Regions from separate parts of the Homo sapiens genome. Here all the other regions are linked to region 1. Evidence: promoter capture Hi-C in 16 types of primary human blood cells and fetal thymus (Javierre and others, 2016). All regions are on one chromosome and are shown on one strand. Each heading gives the region's core, a stretch centred on a gene start or on the middle of the fragment in contact. The rest is flanking DNA. Distances are from core to core; before and after follow the strand shown. Region 1 holds the start of MTMR14 (myotubularin related protein 14). Region 2 holds the start of GHRL (ghrelin and obestatin prepropeptide). Region 3 overlaps TATDN2 (TatD DNase domain containing 2).

What was found. Contacts are between HindIII fragments. The CHiCAGO score rates a contact against its expected background, and 5 or more counts as called.
Region 2: a contact is called between the fragment with the promoter of GHRL here and the fragment with the promoter of MTMR14 in region 1, in 2 of 17 cell types (neutrophils and monocytes). The highest score is 6.5, in neutrophils.
Region 3: a contact is called between a fragment that was not itself captured here and the fragment with the promoter of MTMR14 in region 1, in 1 of 17 cell types (monocytes). The highest score is 5.3, in monocytes.

The regions. Positions count from the first base shown.
Region 1 is chr3:9,647,399-9,652,293 of GRCh38, forward strand. MTMR14 (myotubularin related protein 14) reads left to right here and starts at 2,107. Exons shown (of 19, transcript NM_001077525.3): 1 at 2,107-2,344. The coding sequence starts at 2,186. RefSeq lists enhancers at 1,702-1,931, 1,739-2,634, 1,921-2,090 and silencers at 1,962-2,071, 2,172-2,271. The HindIII fragment of the contact is 16,951 bases long and covers 1-4,895 here.
Region 2 is chr3:10,290,416-10,295,310 of GRCh38, forward strand. GHRL (ghrelin and obestatin prepropeptide) reads right to left here and starts at 2,532. Exons shown (of 6, transcript NM_016362.5): 1 at 2,427-2,532; 2 at 301-1,036. GHRLOS (ghrelin opposite strand/antisense RNA) reads left to right here. Exons shown (of 6, transcript NR_073568.1): 6 at 1,653-3,034. RefSeq lists enhancers at 176-778, 2,290-2,359, 2,370-2,619, 2,430-2,724. The HindIII fragment of the contact is 7,186 bases long and covers 1-4,244 here.
Region 3 is chr3:10,259,652-10,264,546 of GRCh38, forward strand. TATDN2 (TatD DNase domain containing 2) reads left to right here. Exons shown (of 8, transcript NM_014760.4): 3 at 486-1,019. Among named protein-coding and RNA genes, the nearest start is that of TATDN2, 14 kb to the left of the region's middle. RefSeq lists a silencer at 4,284-4,473. The HindIII fragment of the contact is 1,770 bases long and covers 1,028-2,797 here.

The DNA of each region.
Region 1 (4,895 bases), core at 857-3,356:
TCCAAAGTGCTGGGATTACAGGCATGAGCCACCATGCCCGGCCTGTAATTTTTCTTTAACACCATATAATCCAGTCATTTCATTCCTTGGTGTTTAAGACAAATGCGTATATAGATTTGTCAGAAAATATCTAGTAGGCCAGGAGTAGTGGCTCAAACCTGTAATCCCAGCACTTTGGGTGGCAGACGTGGGAGGATTGCTTGAGCCCAGGAGTTTGAGACTCGCCTGGACAACATGGTGAGACTCGGTATCTACAAAAAAATTTAAAAAGTAGCTGGGTGTGGTGGCACATGCCTGTAGTCACAGCTACTTGGGAGGCTGAGGCAGGAGGATTGCTTGAGGCCAGTAGTTGGAGGCTGCAGTGAGCCACGATCATGCCACTGTACTCCAGCTTAGGCAACAAGAGTGAAACCGTTTCTAAAAAAAAAAAAAAAAAAAAAATTAAATTAAATTAAAAACCAATCTACCGTATTAAAACTCTAGAAGCCAGGATAGTGATTAACTGGGGGTGGGAGGAGTTGGGGGGGCAGGGTGGTGGGTGGTTGTTGGTGAGTGGGTAGTGACTGAAAGTGGTCAGGAGGAGGGTTCCGGGGCGCTGGTGTACATATCATACTTCTATTAAAAGTTTAACAAAAACGAATTACTTTCATTCAGACTGGGTATTAGACCACATTAAGGAATATTGTTAATTTTCTTAGGCATGTTAATAGCCTTATATTTTTTATGTATTTTTTTTTTGAAGTACAAATCTGTTGTGATAAATGCTTAAGTATTCACAGCTGAAATAATGTGATGTCTGGGATTTGCTTTAAAATAATTCCCTGGATGGGAAGGGACTGCTTAAACAGGATAGATAAGCAGATGTTGATTATTGTTCAAAACCAGTTAATGGGTACATGAGGGTTCATTATACTATTGTCTCCACTTTTGCGAATGTCTGAAATATTCTAATAATAATAATAATGAGAGGCTTCTCATCACAGAATTTCAAGGCAGTCGCTTCACCTCCCTGACTCCCAGTTTCTACCTCAATAAAATAGGGCTGATGATATAATGCACTGTACTCACAGGGATGTTGTGAGCAGCAGGGGGAGAAAGGGTTTTATGAAATGTTGTGTTTTTGTTTTTGTTTTAGAGACGGAGTCTCATTCTGTCACCCAGGCTGGAGTGCAGTGGCGCGATCTCGGCTCACTCTCCGCCTCCCGGGTTCAAGCAATTCTCCTGCCTCAGCCTCCCGAGTAGCTGGGATTACAGGCACCTGCCACCACGCGCGGCTAATTTTTGTATTTTTAGTAGAGACGGGGTTTCACTGCGTTGATCAGGCTGGTCTCGAATGCCTCACTTCATAATCCGCCTGCCTCGGCCTACCAAAGTGCTGGGATTACAGGCGTGAGACACCGCGGCCGGCTGAAATGTTTTAATATTGGTAACCACTGCCATTATGGTTTCTAGTACTAATTTGTTGCCTCCAAGCGTTCTCTCCTCCTCGCCCTGTAATTTTTTTTTTTTCTTAAGACAGAGTATTGCTCTGTCACCCAGGCTGGAGTGTAGTGGTTCGATTTCGGCTCATTGCAACCTCAGCCTCATGGGTTCAAGCGATTCTCCTGCCTCAGCCTCCCAAGTAGTTGGGATTACAGGTGGGTGTCACCATGCCCGGCTAATTTTTTTATTTTTAGTAGAGATGCGGTTTCACCATTTTGGCAGCCTGGTCTCGAACTCTTGGCCTCAAGTGATCCGCCCGCCTCGGCCCCCCAAAGTGCTGGGATGACAGGTGTGAGCCACCACGCTCGGCTTCCCTGTAATTGTTGATTCCACTTTTCCTCTGGTTCTTTTCAATGGTTCCTTCCTGCTACCCCCCTCCCCCGGCAGCCCAATGGTTGAGCCCGGCTTCCCCGGGGGAAACCCCTTGGGGCGGATCACGCGGTATCAGCCAGTGGCCTCCCTGGTGGATAGAAGGATCGCTCTGCGCCGGGGGCGGGCCAGTAATCGTAGGCGGGGCGCGGGTCCAGAGCTCCGATTGGCCAGAGTCGGAGTAAACATCCGGCGGGACGGGGCGGGGCCGGAAGTGGAAGTGGAAGTAGAAGGCGGTGGCTGAGGCGGTTCCGGAGGTTCTAGTGTCGGAGTTGGGTGCAGGCAGGTGCCATGGGCCCGCTTGAGGCACACTGAGGGGACGCGGGGCTGGGCCATGGCCGGCGCTCGGGCCGCCGCCGCCGCTGCCTCGGCGGGGTCCTCGGCCTCTTCAGGCAACCAGCCGCCTCAGGAGCTGGGGCTTGGGGAGCTGCTGGAGGAGTTCTCCCGGACTCAGTACCGGGCCAAGGATGGCAGCGGGACCGGCGGCTCTAAGGTGAGATTGGAGGTGCGATGAGCTGGGGAAGGCTCCTAACTTGGGAAGTTACAGAGGAAAGGCTGAGGCCAGGGGTCAGAAAAAGGTAGGAGTGGTACCTCGCCGCTGAGGAAGAGGAGAGAGAGAGAGGAGTTCTCCAGGGTCTGTATCCGGAGTATAAGAGTCGGTCTTGACAACCATAAAAGGAGGAACTGGGGTCAGAATGAGCCCAGCAAAGAGGTCCTTCTTGTTTGAGAAGGGGTCTGGAGGTGAGAGATCAAGCTGAGGGGCCAGGTTCAAAGATCAGAGAGGAGGACCTAAGGAAGGTCTATTCCCTGCTTCAGGTGCCGTAGGATGAGTTGTGTCAGGGAAAAAGCCCCAAGAAAAAGCTAAGAAAAATAGGGAGACGATTCCTCGGGGTCAGAGGTCAGAATGGAGCCAGGAGGTGAACCCAGTGTGCTGCCCCCTTATAAGGTCTCAGCATGACTTAGGCCCATCCCTTTCCTTCCCCTATAGAGCAGGAAGACAACCCACACTCCCTTTCAGTTCCTTTATCTAAAGCAGGTCTCCGTTCCTCTTTTTGCTCCCTTTGGGATTTCCACCCAGTCGTCTTATCGCCAGACCTGGAGGGCTTCCTGTCAGCTCAGGCCATCCCCACCCTAAGCACTGGCTGGCAGTGCGGTGGGAATCTTGCCGACCCTGCCATCTCATTCCCCCACGTGGTTTTGGCAGCTTTAGCACCAAGTTTTCCAGTGGAATTCTGTTCCATCCTGCACCACAGAACTCTGATTTGACCTCAGAGATTACCGTGAGTTGCTATTCTGTAGTTGGCATCTTGTAGTCTCTGAAGTAACCCAGGGAAGACTTCAGTAAGGATTGGACTTCCTCACTCTCCAAATGGCCAAGTAATTTTTCCAAGTATAGTCTGGGGACCACCTGTTTAATGATCATCTGGGGTACTTTTAAAATTTGTGCTTATGGGATACTTTGTGAAAACAGAGATTCCTTAGTCCCACCCAGTCCTACCAAGTCAGAATTTCTGGGGGTGGGATCCTGGAATTTGCTTTTTTTTTTTTTTTCTTTTGAGAAGGAGTCTCGCTTTGTCGCCTAGGCTGGAGTGCAGTGGCGCAATCTCAGCTTACTGCATCCTCCGCCTCCCCAGTTCAAGCAATTCTCCCTGCCTCAACTTCCCAAGTAGCTGGGATTACAGGACCCCACCACCACGCCCAGCTAATTATTGTAGTTTTTAGTAGAGATGGAGTTTCCCCAGGTTGGCCAGGCTGGTCTTGAACTCCTGAGCTCAGGTGATCCGCCTACCTCAGCCTCCCAAAGTGCTGGGATACAGGCGTGAGCCACCGCGCCTGGCTTTTTTGTTTGTTTGTTTTTGTTTTTTGTGTTGAGACAGGGTCTCGCTCTGCTGCCCAGGCTGGATTGCAGTGGTGCAACCATGACTTACTGCAGCCTCGAAATCCTGGGTTTGAGCGATCCTCCCACTTAAGCCTGCCAAGCACCTGGGACCACAGGTACACACCACCATGCCTGGCTAATTTTTCTTTATTTTCCTAGAGACATGGTCTCGCTATATTGCCCTGGCTGGTCTCAAACTCCTAAGCTCAAGCAATCCTCCCACCTCAGCCCCCCAAAATGCTGGGATTACAGGCGTGAGCCGCCACACCTGGCCAGTAAGGGTCTTTTGAGTGGCTGTAGGTCATTGGTTTTTCTGGACCCCTCTTCCAACTTACATGACCCTGAAGATTAGGGTTAGCATAAGTTACACCTCATATTGGCTGCGGCTGGCCTTAATTATCTCTCCAGGCCTTCTGATCTCCTGCAAACTTAGATGTATATATATTTATATGTATTTATAACAATTCAGGCAGAACAGGGAGTTAGATCTGTAACTGAACAATCGATTGAGATAACTCACTACCTTTGGACTAACTTCTTGCAAACTTTTTTTTTCAGAAGGAGTCTCCCTCTGTCACCCAGGCTGGAGTGCAGTGGTGCGATCTTGGCTCGCTGCAACTTCCACCTCCTGGATTCAAGCGATCCTCCTGCTTCAGCCTCCCTAGTAGCTGGGACTACAGGCATGCACCATCATGCCTGGCTAATTTTTTTTTTTTTTTTTGAGATGGCGTCTCACTCTGTCGCCCAGGCTGGAATGCAATGGCGTGATCTCGGCTCACTGCAACCTCCGCCTCCTGGGTTCAAGCGATTCTCCTGCTTCAGCCTCCCCAGTAGGTGGGAGTACAGGCGCCCGCCACCATGCCCAGCTAATTTTTATATTTTTAATAGAGATGGGGTTTCACCATGTTGGCCAGGATTATCTCAATCTCTTGAACTCGTGATCTGCCCGCCTTGGCCTCCCAAACTGCTGGGATTACAGGCATGAGCCACTGCACCCAGCCTAATTTTTGTATTTTTAGTAGAGAAAGGGTTTCACCTGTTGGCCAGGCTGGTCTCAAGCTCCTGATCAGAAGTGATCTGCCCTCCTCGGTGCCTCCCAAAGTGCTGGGATTATAGGCGTGAGCCACCATGCCTGGCCCTCTTGCAAACTTCTTGATGTTACAGT
Region 2 (4,895 bases), core at 1,282-3,781, 640 kb after region 1:
GGCAGCAGGACTTGATAGGGGCTGGGGGTCCTCCCCGGTGCCTTTTGTCCCAGGCTCTGAGAGCTCATGGCGAGTCTTTTCATGAGGAGGGAGGAAGCTGAACCAGCAAGGGCCCCAGGGCACTCAGCAGGGAGGGGGTTAGAGGTAGCTCCTAAATGAAGCTCTGTCTTCCAGCCAGACAGTCCGACATCCCCCGTGTTTAGAGGGGACTCCTGAGGCCCAGAGAGGTTAAACGGACGGGCAGCAGTCACGGACAATAAACCTGTCAGCAAACGCACACGGAGAGTAGAGAGAGCTTACCTGCAGTTCCTGGCGGAGGTGGTGCCTGGTGGCTGTCAGGTCCTTATATAGGATGACTGGCGTTTGTTCTAAACCAGCAACCCCATCCCAGAGGTGGCCTAGCTTCCGTGGGGCTGATGTACATTCCTTGGGAACTAAAAATGTTCTTGTCCTCTGGGTAGAAGTCAACAGTGGAGGTCAGATGCCCTGCGGAATTGCTGGGTTGGCGAGGGAAGAAGCATGTGCTCCAGCTGTCCCTGGAACACGGTGGCGGGGTGCCCCAAGTGGGCATGGCCCTGGTGGAGGAGGGAGGGAGGAGAGTGGCTCTGGGGTCTGGGTGCAGCTTTGTTGCTGTGTGACCTTAGCTTACTCGCCCTTTCTCCCTGGGTAAAATGAGGCTGTCATCACTAGGAGAGCTCTGAGACCTCCCCAGTCCAGCGCCCCGTTGTTTCCCATGTGCTGTTGCTGCTCTGGCCTCTGTGAGCCCCGGGAGTCCGCAGGGAGCCAGGCTGGTGATTCTACACCTTCCCGAGGAGGAGTCCCACCTCCCGGTTGAGCAGACTGCTCCTGATCATCCTCTCCAGAGAGTGGGTGTGGGGATAACTTCAGCCAGTGGCTATGCTTCAGTCATTTCTGCCAGGTGTGACATGACTGCCTGGCCTGGCGTTTTTTCACATAGCAGCTTGCCTTGCCTCCCTCCAGCAGCTTTGGTCCCTATTTTAGCGGATGCCTCTTCTGAGAGGGAAGTGCATTGGACCTGGAGGTGGAAGATCTACGCTTAGCACGGGCCTGGCTCCTCTCTCATTGACTGGCCTTACGCCGACCACAAATAATTCCCCTTACCCAGAGTCTTTGAGGGTGAAATGAGGCGATGGGGGGAAAGTGGCTTCTAACCTGTGAAACACCCTGCAGATGACAATGGTTTCATACCAGGCCCATAGGACTTCCCAGCATAGGCCAAGGCCACTGCCTCATTTCCCTCGGCCCCAGGAATTTCTTCCTTTCTGGAGTGCTTCATCCAACTGGGTGCCCAGGCAGGAACCCCTAAGGGCCAATGAGTTGTCTGCAGAGAAGTTCTAGCAGTTCAGGAGAGGAGCTCACCTTAGGCTGGGGCTTGCGGCAGGGATGTTAGCAAAGGCTCCAGGAAAGAGGCCTGTGGTGAACTCGGGGCAGGGCTTTGGAGGGAGGGCTTTGCGGCAAGCAGAGGGGAGGTGAAGGCGTGGGTAGAGTACATCAGGGCAGCATGGAGAAGGCTGGGTGGCTTGGGGGAGGGTGGCGATGGGGTCATAACAAAAACATAAGAAGGTGGTTTGGGGCCAGGTGATGGATGCCTTGGGAACTGCTAGCCCAAGAAGTTTGGGCTTTTTTTGCAGGAGGGCAGCCACTGAGGATTCTTGAGGAGAGAGAGACCATAGAATGAATGAAAGAGTTGGAAAGACTTTAAAGCTCTGGGAGGCTGAATCCTTTATTTCGCTGGAAGAAAAACTGAATGCCAAGAGGGCCTCACTTTCCCCAAAGCTATACAGCCATCAGGGGCAATGCTGGGATTCCCCCATGGATCTCTTGACTCCTAATACAGTGCTCTTTCTGATATGCCATCTGGCTCCATAATGAACATTGTGTTCCAGGAAAATCAGTCTGCGCTGAACAGGATGGAATTGGGGCAGGACGTCCAGTGAGGAGGACATTGAGGCAGTAGAGCAGTTGATTGCCGAATGACCACCTACCCTGACTTAAAAGATCAACCTCAGGGAGGATTGGAGCTTTCTAGAGTCTCTTGGGACAGCAGAAGCACAGGCCGGGTTGGACTGAATCTTTAAGTGGACATGAGGGACAAAGTACCTCCTGTTGGTAAACATCTCACCACCAACCCACTGTGGTGGCTAAAATCCCACCTTTAGTCCCAGCAACATATGAGCATGTCACCAGGAGGTCTTCACAGGCCTGTCTGCCACCTGAGTGTAGACATCTTTTGGCCCTGGAGCCCAGAGAGGCTGAATGTGGAGAGGGTGGAGAGAGGTCTGTAGTCCTCAGAGAAGACTTGCAGCTTTTTCAGAGCCACCAACCCATAAAAAAAAAAATCCCCAAACAGAAAAATCCTAACTGTGGTGACCAGGTACCTCCTGAGACATGAAGCCTCCACTTACCTGGACCCTGGAGGCCTCTCCGGGCACAGCTGCCAATGTTGATCTTAGATAAGACCACCAGCAAGTAAACATCCACTGTGCAAAGCTGTGTTATCTTTGGGGAACTGAAATGTCCCCTGGGAGTTGGAAACTCCCCTAGCCACATACCACAGAGTTGAGGAAGGAAGAGCTGATGGACGGAAGAACCATGGCGGGAGGAGTCATCCGGAAGCTACCTCGCTGCCCTGTCAGTTACGGAACAGAGGAGAGATGCCGGCTGGAGGACACAGCAAATTTGAACCAAGAGGAGCTTGGAGGAAGCCCGAGCGACCTGGAGGGGACTGGCTGACCTTCCTCATTCTTTTCAAGTGTGAATAATAACCAAGCCCAGTTTGGCAACTCCTTGAGGGTGAGGACGAAGCCCCATTCTCCTTTTTGGAACTTGGTGGGGCTCAGGAAGCAGGTTCTCTCCAGTCGGTGGCTTTCCTTTCTGTTGCGGGTCTCTTGAGGGCCTGCCTTCATGAAGGCACATGAGTGACTCATCATTTGTGAATTAATTGCTATATGTGAAGGGCATCTGAGAACAAATTATCTTCATAGACTTTTCATTATAATTTTATTTGTACTGATAATTAGTTGGTTTAGCAAGCTCTTTTTTCATAGATTTGGCTAAACTTCAGTCTGAAAGAGGCAAATTCTGGGGTTCTAGAAAGAGATTTTATTCTTTGATATAGGGCTATTTGGTGGGGTTGCTTTTTGTCCTAGTTGTAGCTTTTATAATTTCGAGATTCACATTTTGCAATAGAAATATACAGGCATACCTTGGAGGCATTACAGCTTTGGTCCCAGACCACAATGAAGCAAGTCACACGAATTTTGTTGGTTTCCCAGTAAATATAAAACGTATGCTGATACCATACTATAGTCTAAGTGTGCAACAGCATATGTCTAAATGAATATACATATATATTTTTTTGAGACAGGTTCTTGCTCTGTCACCCAGGCTGGAGTGCAGTGGCACTATCATGGCTCACTGCAGCCTCCACCTCCCTGGACTAAGATGATCCTCCCACCTCAGGCTCCCAAGTAGCTGGGACTACAGGTCACACCACCACACCCAGTTAATTTTTGTATTTTTTGTAGAGACAGAGTCTTGACATGTTGCCTAGGCTGGTCTTGAACTCCTGGCTTAAGTGATCTGCCTGACTTTGCCTCCCAAAGTGCTGGGATTACAGATGTGTAGTCTTTGAAATCCAGTGTGTGTTCTTACAGTGCATTTCAATTTGGACTAGCCATGTTTCAAATGCTCAGCAGCCACATGCGGCTCATTCTAGATAGGCGGCCATCGCTCTTAAATCCTCCCTGACCTTAGCCATGCTCTCTCATCCCTCCTCTTCGCCAAGCTCTGCCTCTCTCACTGGGGCTTCCCTAGCCTCCGGCCATCTTGGGGCCAAAGCTCTAACACTTTGCCTCTCTCGTGTCTTCTGTTCCCCTCCAGTGGCTTCTGCTTTCTGCCTTAAAATACACCCAGGTTCCTAATCCTGAAAACGTCTGTTGTGCACCGATCCCACCCTCCCCTCGTGTTACCATCTCCATTTCCTTCCCCTTTCCTTGTGTCCTCTTCTTTGCTGTGTCCTGGCCCCTCAAAACTTGACCTTGCCTCTCATCCCCACTGCTGTACTGAAACTGTTGTCTCAGCGTTGCTGATCATCCAGCCTTTTAGTCTATGGACCGCTAAGAGCCATAGGACGACCTCAGGGTGGGACGTGGCTTGGAGGGCCATCTCGTCTCAATTTCCAGATACAGACCTGTGTTGGGTTGTGTTGGATTCATGAGGAAAGCTTCATAAGTTTTATGCACGTTTATAAGACTCCATCCTTGGATTCTGATCCAGTAGCTCTGGCGTGGGGGCTTTAGAATCTGTTTCAAGTATCTCAGGTAATTTTGATTATAAATTACCAAGTATCCCAGGTAAATTTTGATTATAAATGCTTGCTTCCAGCAGAAAATATAAACATATGGAAGATGAAATCTTTCTCTCTGAATAACCCAATTCAGTTTCCACTCGTGAATATCTTATATAACCGTAGTACATTTATCAAAATTAAAACACCAGTGTTAGCACATTACTGTTAATCTCCAGACTATTTGTAAGTCACCAATTTTTCCATTGTCCCATCTGTTCTTCCTTTTCTTTCTCTTGTCATAACCACTTTTAGAGGGTTTTGAATGGTATCATTTTGTCTTCACCGTCGGCTTATTAGCTATACTGTACTGTTCTATTCTTTGAGTGGTTGCTCTAGGATTTACAAATATGACTTCAACATATTGCAGAATACCTTCAACAACTACGATATCCTTTCACAGATAGTGTAAGAACTGCACCACAGAATGCTTTCATTTCCCCACTTCTATTCTTTGTGATATTATTGTCACACATTTTATTTTTACTTAAGGTATGAGCCCCACAATGCATGTTAAATAGCCAAA
Region 3 (4,895 bases), core at 663-3,162, 610 kb after region 1:
TTCAGGAGGCTTTGGGTATGGTGGGAAAAACACTGCACTCAGAACTGGGGGATTGGAGTTCCTGGGGCTAGCCCTTCCCCTCACTGGGTCCTCAGGTTTCCTTTACCCTTAGATATGGGATTGGGCTAGCTGGTTTCTAGGGCCCTTTCCAGTGGGAAGAGCTTGAGCTGCTGTTTTGCCTGAAGTGTAGTCCTTGCCTTCCAGGAGCTTGCAGTCTGGTTTAATGAGAGTGTTCATTTCAGCTCCTTCCGTCCCCTTGCAGTGAAAGGATATCATCTGCTGAGCATGAGAAGGCGAATGCTAAGAAATGGCAGCAATCAGCCCCTCTTACAGTGCCACTTCACCACCCGGAGAGAACCTTTGCCTTAGCCACAGTCACTTTCCCTTTGACTGGTAGAACCACCACTGATTTATAATTTGCCAAATGCTTCATGTACGAAAGTGCCCTTGGAACAGCCCTTTCAATTCTGTTTTTTTTTTCCCAGGTTGATTCCAAAGATAGTTCTCATAACTCCACAAACTCTGAATTTGCAGCTGAAGCTGAGGGTCAGAATGATACAATTGAGGAACCCAACAAGGTCCAGAAAAGGAAGAGGGATAGACTTCGAGACCAGGGCTCCACAATGATCTACCTGAAGGCTATCCAGGGCATCCTGGGGAAATCGATGCCAAAAAGGAAGGGAGAGGCTGCCACTCGGGCAAAACCAAGCGCAGCAGAGCATCCCAGCCATGGAGAAGGACCAGCCAGGAGTGAAGGACCAGCCAAGACTGCAGAAGGAGCAGCCAGGAGTGTCACAGTCACTGCTGCTCAGAAGGAGAAAGACGCAACCCCAGAGGTCAGCATGGAGGAGGATAAGACAGTGCCAGAGAGGAGCAGCTTCTATGACAGGAGAGTAGTTATAGACCCTCAAGAGAAACCCAGTGAGGAGCCCCTTGGGGACCGAAGGACTGTCATTGACAAATGCTCTCCACCCCTAGAGTTCTTGGATGACTCTGACTCTCATTTAGAAATCCAAAAGGTGAGTAAAGCTTGTACCAGGCATCTGACTTTTTAGTTCTGTTGATGAAATGTGTTCCATCTTTCTAGTTTGATCCTAAGTGTTACTAATTAAAAATAGTACTTTACTTAACCAGGCCTCCAGGGAACAAACTGATGGTTTTCTTCTAACATACTTTTCAGATTTTCAGAGTTATTAATAAACCTAAACTAAGTGCTTTTTTTTTTTTTTGAAGGATTTATATGTTAGGATATGGGTTTAGCTGCTGTGTAAAAGGCCAAAATCACAGTGGCTTAAACAGAATATAAGTTTGGCTTAAGAAGGATGGCTCCATCATGTCAGAGATACTGGTACCTTTTGTCTTGATTCTCTATCACCCCTCAACACAGTGTCCATCTCTTGGTGTGAAATGGATACTCTGATAGGACTCAGGGTTTGTTATCTGGGCATTCTGGCCAGTGGGAAGGGGAGAAGAGGAGAGTGCATTCCTTCCCTGTTAAGAGCTTGGCTCAAGAGTTGCACATGTTGTATCTGCTGTTGACAAGAGCGGGGAAACCCGGCTGACACCTGGCTGCAAGGGAGTCTGGAAAATCAGCCTTTATCTAGGCAGACTTGTACCTGGATAACCAGAGAAGAAGGGAAGGATGTCATTGGACGGAAACTAGTGATTTTTAACATAGCTTATAATTGAGGGGAAGCATTCCTCCATCTTTTTCTTTTTTTTTTTTTTTTTGTTGTTGGGACAGAGTCTTGCTCTGTTGCCCAGGCTGGAGTGCGATGGTGCAATCTTGGCTCACTGCAACCTCCACCTCCTGGGTTCAAGCAATTCTCCTGCCTCAGCCTCCTGAGTAGCTGGGATTACAGGTGTGCGCCACCAAACCGGCTAATTTTTGTATTTTTAGTAGATATGGGATTTCTCCATGTTGGCCAGGCTGGTCTCGAACTCCTGACCTCGTGATCCACCTGCCTTGGCCTCCCAAAGTGCCGGGATTACAGGCATGAGCCACTGTGCCAGGCCACATTCCTCCATCTTACTCGTCTCCACCCATCCTTTACTACTGCTCTGCAGGCAGCTTCTCTCATCTTTAGCTCTTTCTTCTAGTACTTACCCCATGTTTCTAAATAATCTTTACTGTTGATCAGTTTTTCAGTTTTAGATGTCTGAGGACTTCTTGCTTGGGCGATGAGAATTTAGTTCTCTATACCTCCTTCAGAAGCACCCACACCCAGGGACACATTAGCTTCCCCTTTCTGCAGCCTCCCTGTGTGGCTTGAATACCTTTTGGGTTAAGTCTGTGTAAGATTTGTTACTGCCATGTTCACAGCTGAGTCGCCTTGTATACTCTGATCACATTTTCTTTCTTGTAAAACTTCATTTTCCTTAAAGTTCATCATTACTTTGTTTTTCCTTTGGTTTTCCTGGTACCTTTCACTAATTAATCCCCAAACTGCGAGAGCTGTAAAATCCTTCTCAATACTGTCAAAATAAGGAATCTGTTTCTTTTTTTTCTCTCTTGGAGGTATACGTCCTCAGCCCTCTGTTGTCCTGCTCTGGTCTGGACTGCCTGCCGTCAGGCCAGCTGGCAGCTGTCTCTCTGGAGCCTCCTTCACATTTCTCCCGGATTGAGTCTTCTGCTACCTATACTCTGTGTCTTCTCATGTTCTTCTTCCTTGGTTTACTCTCACATTTTGGTGGAATACTTTTTCTAGTAGCTTCTTGAGAAAGGGTACATGGAGAAACTTTTTTTGGTAAACATGTGTCTGAGATTGCCTTTATTTTACCTTTAACCTTGATTACAAGCTTGGTTGGTTTTGGAATTCCAGGTTGGAAATTGTTTTGTTTGGGATTTTGAAGGCATTGCTCCTTTTCTTCTGGGCTTTTTTTTTTTTTTTTTTTTTTTTGAGGTGGAGTCTCGTTCTGTCTTGCCCAGGCTGGAGTGCACTGGTGTGATCTTGGCTCACTGCAGCCTCCACTTCCTGGGTTCAAGTGATTCTCCTGTCTCAGCCTCCCGAGTAGCTGGGATTACAGGCACACGCCACCACACCTGGCTAATTTTGTATTTTTGGTAGAGACAGAGTTTCATCATGTTGGCCAGGCTGGTCTCAAACTTCTGACCTGAGGTGATCCACCTGCCTAGGCTTCCCAAAGTACTGAGATTACAGGTGTAAGCCACTTCGCCTGGCCTCTTCTGGTTTTCTTGATGTCTGAAGCTATGCTGGTTCCTGAACCTTGGTATATGATTTTTTATTTTTTATTTTCTTTTGCTTTGAGACAGAGTTTTGCTCTGTCACCCAGGTTGGAGTCCAGTGGCGTGATCTCAGCTCACTGCAATCTTCACCTCCCAGGTTCAAGCGATTCTCCTGCCTCAGCCTTGTGAGTAGCTGGGATTACAGGCATGTGCCACCACACCCGGCTAATTTTTGTATTTTTAGTAGAGATGGGGTTTCACCATTTTGGTGAGGCTGGTGTCGAACTCCTGACCTCATGATCCGCCCGGCTCAGCCTCCCAAAGTGCTGGGATTACAGGTGTGAGCCACCGTGCCCAACCTGTATTTTTTTTTTTTTTCCCTCTGTGGAATCTTGTAGAATATATTTTGATCTCAGGGCTCTGAAATTTCATGGTGGTGGTGTCTACTTTGCTTAGCATGGGACATTCCCTTTCAATCTAGAAACCCTTGTACTTTAGCTGTGGGAAAAGTTCGTGAATTACTGTACTTCGCTGATGTTTTCTTTCCGTATTTTTCTTCTCTCTTTCTCTCTCTAGCTTCTCTACCTTCTTTCTCTTATTTGGATGTTGGATTTTTCAGGACTGGTCCTGTAATTTTATTGCCTTTCTCCCTTGTTTCTAGCCAATTTCTTGCTTTACTTTGTAGGATATTTCCTTTTCTTTATCTTCCAACCCAGCTGTTTATTTAGTTTTACTTTTCTACTGTCATGCTTTTTATTATCCAAGAGCTCTTTTGTTTTTTAATAACATCTCTGTTCTTGTTTCATCTTCTGTTATCTCTTTTAGGGAGTTCATGGTAGTTTTTTGGCTTGGTTTTAGTTTTCTTTAAGTTGCTTCTTTCCGTTTCTTTTGATCTCTTCTGTGTTAGAGGCTGCCTTCACATGTCTGGTAATCTTTGGTTGTCTGTTTATGATCAAGAATGGGAGGATTAAAAAGCTGTTTGGAAGCTCTGAGCGTAAAGACTTTGAGCTTTGCTTTGGGATGATCGGGAGAATATAACCCTCTTCCCCTTGCCATGTCACTGCTTTTAGGAAAGCCTCGAGACTGGTCACCTTGCCCAGAGGAGTGTTTTTCAGCCTGCTTAGGAGGAAAGGTGGCTGGGAGCTGGGTAGCGAAAGGGGCGGCTGCGGGGGCGGCGTCAGCATTCACTTAATCTTTGTCTTTTTGGTGCAGTACCAGTGCCCTCCACTGAGCTGACCAGGCCTTATTCTAGAGATCCTCTTGTTTTACTGTCTTCAAACAACTCACCTTCTCTGAGTATGAGGAGGGAATCTGGGATCTAACTCATTGGAAACCAGATTTCACCCTGTCCTCCTCCTTTTAATGTTCTTCTGTAACTCCAGTTCCTCCAGTTCCCAAGGTGCCCAGTACCGCGAGTGCCTGCTCTGTTCTAAGCTTTCCTGGTGCCTAGCTTAGGTCTCAGCCTTCTCTTGGTCTGCCAGTGAGGTGTTATTTGGCCATCTGCTTTCTAGCCTCCAGTGCGTGATCACTGTAGTCTCTTGTTCTTCCTGTTCTGGTGTTTTTGTTATTGTAGAGGGGTTTTATTTGTTTTTTGTTTGGTTTTTAGATTCTTTAGTTTTAGTGAGGTTTCAGGAAAGAGTAAAATAAGTCGAATTTGTTCAGTACATCCTTAGCCTAGAAAAGTTCTGGGAAAATTTCTTGATTATTT